2 separate regions of the Homo sapiens genome follow, and region 1 is linked to region 2. Evidence: promoter capture Hi-C in human tissues and cell types (Jung and others, 2019). All regions are on one chromosome and are shown on one strand. Each heading gives the region's core, a stretch centred on a gene start or on the middle of the fragment in contact. The rest is flanking DNA. Distances are from core to core; before and after follow the strand shown. Region 1 holds the start of LINC02677 (long intergenic non-protein coding RNA 2677). Region 2 holds the start of NET1 (neuroepithelial cell transforming 1).

Region 1 (5,216 bases), core at 1,389-3,888, 210 kb after region 2:
CATAGCTGGCACCCTGGATGGCAGCTAGCACGGCAGCTCCACAAAGCCTTCCGGGACCCCTAGACTCTCTTCTTCTGCACCAACTCCAGGACTTCATTTAGCCCCTATCATAAGCACAACTCTGCCCCTGCTTGCTAAGGCCCAGCTCTGACGCACCTTGTGTCAATGGTCAGTGTCTGGCAAAGGGCTTGTGGCAGAGAAGAGGCTCCAACATGTGGGTGGTCGGCTCCCCGAGTGCCGCCGATGCCCTGAGTGCCGTCCACCCCCCGGAGTGCCGCCCGCCTCGCTGAGTGCCGCCCATCCCCCTGAGTGCCACCCACCCCGCCGAGTGCCGCCCACCCAGCCGAGTGCCGTCCACCCCCCCGAGTGCCGCCCACCCCCCGAGTGCCGCCCACCCAGCCGAGTGCCGTCCACCCCCCCGAGTGCCGCCCACCCCCCGAGTGCCGCCCACCCCCCGAGTGCCGCCCACCCCCCCGAGTGCCGCCCACCCCCCGAGTGCCGCCCACCCCCCCGAGTGCCGCCCACCCCCCCGAGTGCCGCCCACCCCCCGAGTGCCGTCCACCCCCCGAGTGCTGTCCACCCACAACACGGTGCTGCCTCTCTTGCCAAGGCAAATTAAGACACCCTTTGGTACAGAATGAAACCGTTCTCTTTGAAGAACTGCATGTTTCCCCCAGTCATTTTTGTCCTGGGGGAGTCAAGTGTTTTTACGGACCCTTGAAGCTTGAGGACACTCTGGCATCACCCATTGTTGGGGTGACTTTCTGGTGATTATCAGTGAGCAAACTTCAAGGCCAGCTCCGATTAGGAAAATCTGCCAAGTGTGAGTTTCCTTGGAGCTAGGACTGGGCAGAGACCCCTGGTCCTTGGTCCGTAGGGAAGCTGGGGGATTTGGGGGGTAAGTAATGAGATCATGTCTGCAGAGGCCCCCAGCCTCTTGGAAGAAGATTCCGCTGTAATTTCTTGGAAAAAGCCAACTCCTTCCAGCCCTTTCTGCTCACACCATCTCAGTTTTCCTGTCTGGCTGCAGCCACCAACAGCAGCCACAGGATCTCGCCAAATTTCCATTTACTTGCTCTCTGGTCTTCTCATGCTGGCGCAGTCCTCCCCTCCGGACCACGAGAGCCAAGTGTAAATTGTGTGGTCCCAGCAATCATTCAATCCTGCAGATAGCTGTGTTAAGGGTGTCTGGGGACCTGGGGAAGGAGTGTGTTTTGTGTTTTGTTTTTATGCATTTCCTCACTCTGTCTGGATATGGGGATCTGGGGAGGGAGAGAGAAGGTAGGCTTTCTTCACAGGGGATGCTTACCTACTGGCGAGCACAGCGATCTGAGCTTTGGGGGCCTCCGTCGGCCCTCAGTGATGTGTGGTTTCCCTCATTGGCCTTCACTGGGGTTCCCCTCAGTGCACTAAGGTGGACATGGGAGAAAAAGCCCCGTGGCCCCCTAAACAAATCGACCCCAGATGCCATGGGACAGGGTTCCAATCCCGCCTCTCGTGTTGGTTTTCTTGGTGATGAACGACAAATCCCTTTTCATTTCTAGTTCTGATCCCCTCATCTTGGAGGTGCTTGTCCCTGTCTGGCATCCCACAGTTTTCTATGGGAATGTGAAGATGCTTCAGCGGGGCTGCTGCCCTAAGGAGCATCTGGGGCAGGTGGACCAGGGTGGATGCATCAGTCGTGAGGACAGTGAAGGGCCGCGGATGCGGCAGTAGAGAGGAGGGCTGGCTGGAGAAGATGGGAGAGCGGCAGTTCCCACGCAGAACAGCAGCAGGAGGGCCGGGGAAGATGAGCTGGACAGGTAAGTATGGCGGGCAAGCGGGTAAGCAGGTGAGCAAGTAAGCAGGTAGGCAGGTGAGCAAGTAAGCAGGTAGGCAGGCGGGCAGGTAGGCAGGGAAGCAGGCCCTTGAATACTGTGCTAAGGAGTTTGGGTTTTACCTTGAGGGTGAAGAGTTCTTAGCGGGATGTTGGTGGAGCCTGGCAAAACCAGAGGCACAGAGATGCTGCCAACTCATCTTGCAGAGCGCGTCTCAGACATTCCTAGCAAAGAGAAGGCCCTGGGAAATCCAGTGACTCTGAAACCTTCATGCAGAGATGTGCGTGGAGATCTCTAGAAAGGGCTGGAGCCAGAGGGATAATTTCCGAAAGCTTCACAGATGCTGTGCTTCTGAGCAAAGTCCACACTCTGCATCTGGGCAGTGCACACGCAACCATGCACCAACCACACCACTCTTTGCAAGGACCTCAGCTCCTCGCCCAAACGCCGCAGGGCAAGCCCAGGCAGGGCTCAGCATTCCACTCTGAAGGTGAAGCCATGTGCTTTAAAAGAAGGCAGAGGCTCTGTGGCTGTTTCTCTTCCCCTCGCTGGGAGGTGGGACAGGGTAGTGGTTAAGCGTGGGTTCCATCATCCAACATCTAGGTGGCAATCCCAGCTCTACTGTTTAACAGTGTGTGCCCTTATATGCATTTCTTAATTTCTCCGGGCCTCTTTCCTCATTATCAAACTCAGGATTGAGCGGATTTCTCTACTCTCTACACCTAGAAAGTAGTGGGTGTACCTCACTACATGGCTCGTCAGAAGACTACAATAAAATGTGCTGTTATCATGATCTGTTTCTCCAGCACTTTTCTTTTAAACTGTCTGGAGAGTTGAATGATAACAACAGGCCTTTTAAGAATTTTGGAGGTAGGAACTACAATGATTCCCAAGCTGCTGATGAGGAACCGAGCCTCAGAGGGTTAATAACATCCCAGGATCTCATGCCCCCAAAAAGGGCAAGGCTCGGGAGGTGGAAAGACTTCTCATCACCAAGTATCACAGGGAGAAGGTCAGCTCCAGACTGAGCCTTAAAAAGTGTGTCTTGTTCAGGAAGGAGGTTGAGAAAGTGGGTGGCCACATGCCCGGGCCCTGGAAGGCTCCCTGGACCAGGGCCTCACGGACAGACTGAGAAAGCCGCTCCTGGCCTGGGTCATGCCTGCAGGGCCCTCGCTAGCCTATGAAACCCCACGGGCCTGCACGTTTCCTCCACAAGCTGTGAGAGGCATCAGTATGTCCTCTCCGGAGTGACAAATGACACTCGACCCCGAGGCCCACGCAGGCTCGGTAATCAGTGACAGCTGCAGCAGCTGTTCTGCTGGCCAGGGGTCAAGGTCCCAGGCAGCTTCTCCTTATGGGGTATAACCTGATTGCACTGCAGCTCTGAGCTGCCCCAGGAGCCCCGTGCACAGAGCCTGAGACTATGTCAAGCCCATCTGTCAATCTGGAAGAGCCCACCTCTCAATCTATGGAAAGAGACCGGAACAGTGCAGGTGCCCACTCAGTGCTGAAATGATCAAGGAGTAAATGAGTGAGTGAGTGAAGGAATGCATGAATCCTTCCTCCTCTTCCCTCGTAAGAGACAATCTCCAAGCAGCAATTGCCCCACCCTCATGGGCTTTTCCAGAACTGTGTGAGAAGAAAGGAGCTGCTCAGTGTCAGGGACACCCCTCCAAGTCCCACAGACCACAGTAGCAGGCATCTGACTCATGCCAGACCTGTCCTCCTGCAGGGAGCACACATACCCACCTGCCCCTGTGTGGTCGGCAGCCATGCCCCTGAGCCCTAGAGGCAGCGGGGAGCAAGATCTCCAAGCCCCAGCTCCACACTGATGGCTGCTCCTGGACAAGGATGCAGGGACCTGGAAAGAAAGGACAATCCCCCACCGAAGGAAGCGGAGGGGCCGGGATTTGAGGTTACAGCATGGAAGGAAAGAGCTGAGCTTCAAAGGCCGCAGAAGAAGAACAGGCGGAGTTAACAGGAAAAACCACAGTCAGGCCCTCTGGGAGAGGCTGGGGTTGCATGGAGGGCTGAGGAGGGGGAAGAGGGGCCAGGACTGGCAAAGGCTGCCTGACAGTCTGCCCTCCAGACAGCCACTTCCTCCCCTGTGCCTGCTCCATGTGGGAAGCCCTATGGGGGCTCAACTTTCAGCCCTGCTTCGGAGTGGGGGGACTGTCTCCTCCCTTGTCGCTCCCCATTCTCACCCCCACCCCCAACAGAGACCCCTTTCTGCAAGGCCAGGAGTGAGCGCACGGCATCAGACCCTTGCATCAGAGCCCTGGCACGTCCTTGTTTTCAGTGGTTTGGAAGTGAATCGTCTCTAGGTTTGTGTTGAGGCCAAGATACACGTTTTTCCTTTTCTCCGCTTTCCTTTCTTGTGCCTTGTTATGACTGGCTTTGGAGCCTGGCTTACAGGGAGGGGGGATGGAGAATGGGCAGGCTGTGGGGGAGGTGGCTGGGGTCCCAGGGAGGGAGGTCTCGGGACACCTGCCCTGCCAAAGTTAAGGCTACTGGGCAGGTGACCTTGGCCTCCAGGTCAGGGAAGCTGGAGGTATCTCATGGGCCACAGAGTCCCAGGATCCACAGAGGAAGGAGGAGGGAGCCGCTGGGAAAGTGGTTTAGGCTTAGGTGGTTGATGAGTGCGTGGGACAGGGGGAGGAGGAAGAAATGGGGAGGCTGCCACATGGCAGAGGAGGAACCCACACTCCGGAGAAACTCACTTTGTGTTCCAGCCTCCACTCGGAGCCGAGCGTCATCCCACCCACCCCGGGCTGGGTGTTTCTCCTTCACTTGGGAAAACCAAAAGGCAGAATTGAGGTTGCGGCCTCCAGAGCCCATCAGGACAAAAGACATGCCCTGAGCGCCCTGCACCAGCCCTGAGCTGAGTGGCGGCCCCACCAGCTGGCCCTTAGGGCTGAAAGCAAGAGCAGGCACGTGGGAGCTACCCAGGGTCTCGGGGTGCTGTGGAAGGTGCACCCCCACCAGCCTTCCACAGCCACCACATCCCAGGAGAGGCCAAGACACGCCCCAGACCAAACAGAAGACGGGAAAATGCTGGTTCTGAAAAATGTTTACATTCTCCTTCCCAGAATTCCAAGATACTAAGATGTCCTAAAACAAAAAGAAATGAAAAGATAGGAGGGAAAACACCCATTGATGAAAATGATTCATTCCCTCGATACATTTCTACAAAACGAACCCGGAGCAGGACCCAGAACTCTGCGTTCATCCGTCAGCACCCAGCTAACTCCTCCACACCCCTGTTCGGGGCCGGATGGCAAGACACCAAGATGGTTAAATTTAAGAGAAGTCACAGGATGGTGGAGACAGTTTAAATAACAAGCACCTGGGGAAGCGGTTCATTGCCGGGTCCGGACGAAGCCGCGTGGGAGCCGGGGG
Region 2 (5,393 bases), core at 958-3,457:
AGGTGAGCCCTGATTGGTCAATTCGGGTAAATTGTGAAAATCCCAAAGGGGTGTGAGTTTTCTGGACACAGAGTAGTTGTGACCTACTTGGGACCTGACTTGAAGAATTGCTCTTACAGGTTTATTTTTGTTCATAATCTAAACATCTGCATCCTCTGAAGCTCTGTCTTGGTGGAGACCAACTCCCCAAATATTAAGAACATTTCTGTATTCTTACACTCTAACTGCTACAAAGCAGTACTTTCTTCTTTAATTTTTGGGGAGGGATGGGGAAGGTAGAACAGAAGTGGTTCTTGACCAAGGTCAACTTATGTTCAGAGCTGGTTCCTTCCGGTGGGTTCATGGTCTCGCTGACTTCAAGAATGAAGCCATGGACCTTCATGGTGAGTGTTACAGCTCTTAAAGGTGGCACAGACCTAAAGAGTGAGCAGCAGCAAGATTTATTGTAAAGAGTGAAAGAACTAAAGCTTCCACAGTGTGGAAGGGGACCCCAGTGGGTTGCCCTGCTGGCTGGGGTGGCCAGGTTTTATTCCCTTATATGTGCCCTCCCATGTTCCATTTTTGTCCTATCAGAGTGCCCTTTTTTCAATCCTCCCTGTGATTGGCTACTTTTAGGGTCCTGCTGATTGGTGCTTTTTACAGAGCACTGATTGGTGCATTTTACAATCCTCTTGCTAGCTACAGAGCACTGATTGGTGTGTTTTACAATCCTCTTGCCAGACAGAAAAGTTCTCCAAGTCCCCACTCTACCCAGGAAGTCTAGCTGGCTTCACATCTCAATGTTACTCCCTAATTTCTTACTCTTTTTAAAACAAAAACATTTTTCCCTCATGTTATAAAGGTACTGCAAATTCAATATGTCCTTATTTTTAAAAAAATTAAATGCAAAAAATAAAAATAAAAATTTTGAATACCTAAAGTCTACCTAGAGACATTTTAATACATTGACTTTTTAATACATTTAATACATTTTAATACATTATCTTTTTTCTTTGTATAATCTCTTGTAATTCATAACTTTGAATATACTGAATATACCTCTATACTTCATGTTTTTATTTCAAATTACCAGTATACTATTACATACTTCACACTTCATTTTTGTTGGCTGAAAATATTCTTCTCAGTGGATGAGCTATAAATCATTGTTTATTTAGGTTGTTTTAAATGTTTCTATTATAAACAATGTCATTAATAGCTTCATGTTTATATAATTTTATTTTTTAGGATAAATTTCCATAAGTGGAAATATACTGGCAAAAGAGAAGTGTTTTTTTGTTTTTTTTTTTTTGGAGACGGAGTCTCGCTCTGTCACTGGGCTGGAGTGCAGTGGCACGGTCTTGGCTCAATTCAAGCTCCGACTCTCTGGTTCAACTAATTCTCCTGCCTCAGCCTCCTGAGTAGCTGGGATTACAGGCATGCGCCACTCTGCCCAGCTAAGTTTTGTATTTTAGTAGCGACAGGGTTTCACCATGTTGGCCAGGATGGTCTTGATCTCCTGATCTCGTGATCCGCCTGCCTCAGCCTCCCAAAGTGCTGGGATTACAGGCGTGAGCCACAGCGCCCGGTCAGGAGAAGCTATTTTTAAAGACTTTGACACATATAAAGCAATATTTAAAATCAAAGAAAGTGTAATTTGTTTAACAATTTTTTTTTTACTTGAAGCGGTCTTTTATTTTATATTATGTCTTTTGCTGACTTTTACAAGCAAAGGATGAAGTCACTTCATTCTGTTTTGCTAGGGAGAGACTGTGTCATGCTTATTGGAAGACATAAGGGCTCATAATTAGATTTTGCTGGTTCCCTAGAGACAGTCCCGGGAACACACTTGCATAACCTTTGGTAATTGGAAATATATCTCATATTGGCCACGTGCACAATAATTCAGTGTGAATATGGCCAATAAACATGCCTTGTTTACAGGTCATTAGTTTGGACCTCTCTTCTCCTCAAATGCTAAGAAAGATCTGGTGAATTAAAATGCTTCCAGTCCATTTGCCTTGGCCTGTAGTGAAAGTCCTAATGAACAATGAAGGAGGTACCGGGCCTTAGGGACTCAGGGATGCGCTCAGGAGTTAAGGGCAAATTTTCCTAGGTTCTTTCCTAGGCAAGTAGATCCCGGGAGCGGTGGAGGGGCGGGACTCCACGTCTCCTAGGAACCGCTGCGCGCTCACTGATTGGCTGATCGCTGCTCAGCCGCCATTTTCAAATCCCCGGATGACGGCGGTGGCGGCTGCAGTCCGCTGACAGGCGCTTTCTGCCTGGCAGAGGCTGGCGGGCATCGTGCCCGTCCCTGCCGGTCTCCCGGGCACCCGGCCACCGCCCCACCCCCTCCTCCGTGCCATGGAGCCCGAGCTGGCGGCTCAGAAGCAGCCTCGACCGCGGAGGCGAAGCCGCCGGGCCTCTGGGCTCAGCACGGAGGGAGCGACGGGGCCTTCGGCCGACACCTCCGGGTCGGAGCTGGACGGGAGGTGAGTGTGGGGGAGGGGAGGGCCGAACGGGAGGTGAGTGTAGGGGAGCGGAGGGCCGAACGGGAGGTGAGTGTTGGAGAGGCAAGGGCCGGGGGGAGGGGAGGGCTGGCCGGGAGTTGGATGTGGGGGGCGGCGAGTGGGGGTGTTGGTGAGGGCCAGGGGGAGGCGAGGGCCGCTGGGAGGTGAGTGGGGGGTGGGGGAGGTGACCGCGGGGTTGGGGGGGGGGACGGGGGCCGCTGGAAGTGAGGGTGGCACAGGCTGGAGTGACAGTGTGCCTGGCCTTGGACCGAGGTCGGTCCTGAGACCCCAAACTGCGATTTTCCCTGCCTGTGGCAAAGGGGCGGGTTTATTGAGTCTCCTCGCCTCCTGACTGTTTCTCAGGGGAGACTTAGGAAAAACCACAATGGTTTTGTTCTGCACACCCAACTGGCTGTAGGCTGGCGTTCCCAAATGCCTTTGCTCAGACCGAAACTGTCATGGTGAGCACCACGAGAATGGGCTTCCATGTCCTGAGAAAGAAAAGACTAAGGGATAAGTTGACTTCGGGATATGTTATGAGATGCCTATTAGAGAGTTCATCACAACCATTTTCGTGTTTTTTCTTTTTACTTTTTGTGGAAGTATACATTGAAATGAGAGTGTATGACTCGTGTTTGGCTCAGTGAAATTTCACAAAGCGAAGCTCAGGGGATAGCTAGTGAATTAGGAGGAAGGGAACCAAGTGAGAACAGTATCCAGGAGGCCAAATGAAGAAAGAATTTCAAGAAGAGGACGTGGCGAGCTATGTCAGATGTTATTGATAGGTCAAATAAAATGAGGATTAAGTAAAATAAGATGAGGATTAAGCTAGATGAGGAATGAAAATTAAATTTGGTAATGAGAAGAGAGTATTGATCTTAGATGGTTTCCAAGAATGGTTACAATATCGAACTTAGAGTGTTTTGCAACAGGTTGAGAAGAGAATGTGCGATTTGTTCAGAAAATAATGTGAGTGCCAACACTAGGAATATGGAAATGGAAAAATACTCTTGTTACTATTTAAGATTTATAATCTAGTGGGGAAGAAAGATAAGTAGGTTAATAATTATTATAATATGTGATAAAAGTTATTATAGTGATATACACAGAATGCCGTAGATTAAAAGGAACACTTAATCCTGACTGGAGAGAATAGGAAATGATTTCCTATTGTAATCCCTGAGTCTTTAAGGACCAGTTTAGAGAGCAGATGTAAATGGATGATTTCAGGCAGAGAAGCATGTAGAAAGGCCCTGAAGCAAATGAGTCTGATGAGTTCTGGGTATATATTCTATTTTATTACTATATTAACAGTGATATTTGTATAGAGGAGAGGAAACCAATATGGGGAGAAGGAGGAGGTAGTCATGAGAGATGATGCTAAAGAGGTAAGCGCCACATCATGAAGAGACCTTGTATGCCTTGACAGAGTTTGGGTTTTATCTTCATGGTAATGGGGAAATACTGAAAGACTTTAAATGAGCCAATGGCATGACATATTTGCATTTTAAAAGATCAGTTTGCCTTCCATGAGAAAAATAAGCAACATTTTGGAGTCATCTCACTCTTCATATTTTATGAAAACTATTCCCCAAAAATGTGCACATATACATAAACATTTCAGGAGATTTGTGGACCCAGCTGTGTATACCAAATTAAAATTTCCAAGTTTAGCTGATGGATTGGTAGGAAATCAGTCTGCAGTAGTCTAAATGAAAAAATGATTGTTCGAATCTGATAGCTGGCAATGGGATTGGTGAAGAGAAGTTTCACTGCAACAGGAAGACAAGAAAGAATAGAGAGAAATAACACAATTTTGTGGGATAGACTCTTAAGAAAGAATAAATTCCCTTGATGTGCTGTGCTGAGTTAACAAATAGAGGGAGAGGTTGAACAGACAGTAGAGGAGAAAAATGGTTGAACAAGGATCCAAGAAGGCAGAAAAGGACAGAATCCAAATTCAAGGTAGAGGATTTAGCCTAACAAGAAGCTATGGATGATATATAGTTTTGAAGAATGGGGTGTGTTGTGAGCAGGAATTTGAGGACTTTCCCACCAGGCCTCTATTTTTTGTGTGAGGTAGGAAATGATACATTGTGAGAAAAGCGTAGTAACACAGGCAGCATGAGGAGAGTGAGACACAGTTAGAAGAACCATGGAGAGAAAATGGAGAATTAAATAACATATTCCTTTTCCAGAAAAGATGTAAGATCATCTACAAGAATACGTAAAATATTACAAGATAGTATTAATTGTGAGGCAAGAAGCAACTAAGCACTGTATCAGATTCAGAAATCATAAGGAAAAAGATTTGTGTGTATGATTATGTGACTATTGAAAAACGTTCTGCAGGCAAAACTCAGTATAAACTAATTTGAAAGACAAATACGTACAGTACAATTTACCCACTTAAATTGTACTACTTAGAACATTTTCATCACCTCAAAAAGAGCATTTGTACCCTTTAGCTATTGTTCCTCTCCTACCCCTTCTGCCCTAAAACCTAATCTGTCGGTCTGTAGGAATTTCTCTGTTCTGGACATTGCATATGAATGGATTTATGTAATGTGTGTGGCCATTTTTGGTGGGCCATCCTTTGCTCTTTTTTTTTTTTCTTTTGAGACGGAGTCTCAGTCTGTCACCGGGGCTGGAGTACAGTGGCATGATCTCGGCTCACTGCAACCTCCGCCTCCCGGGTTCAAGTGATTCTCCTGCCTCAGCCTACCAAGTAGCTGGAACTACAGGCATGTGTCACCACGTGTGGCTAATTTTTTGTATTTTTAGTAAAGACAGGGTTTCACCATGTTGGCTAGGCTGGTCTTGAACTCCTGACCTTGTGATTTGCCTGCCTCGGCCTCCCAAAGTGCTGGGATTACAGGCGTGAGCCACCGCACCTGGCCCTGT

What was found. Contacts are between HindIII fragments. The study calls those that stand out against the background at their distance.
Region 1: a contact is called between a fragment that was not itself captured here and the fragment with the promoter of NET1 in region 2, in 4 of the 25 tissues and cell types used here (dorsolateral prefrontal cortex, mesenchymal stem cells, neural progenitor cells and 1 more).

The regions. Positions count from the first base shown.
Region 1 is chr10:5,615,992-5,621,207 of GRCh38, forward strand. It overlaps LINC02677 (long intergenic non-protein coding RNA 2677), which reads right to left and starts at 2,217. Exons shown (of 2, transcript NR_184032.1): 1 at 1,940-2,217; 2 at 627-1,409. The HindIII fragment of the contact is 7,810 bases long and covers 1-5,216 here.
Region 2 is chr10:5,410,350-5,415,742 of GRCh38, forward strand. NET1 (neuroepithelial cell transforming 1) reads left to right here and starts at 2,208. Exons shown (of 12, transcript NM_001047160.3): 1 at 2,208-2,471. The coding sequence starts at 2,344. RefSeq lists a silencer at 2,120-2,549. The HindIII fragment of the contact is 9,279 bases long and covers 1-5,393 here.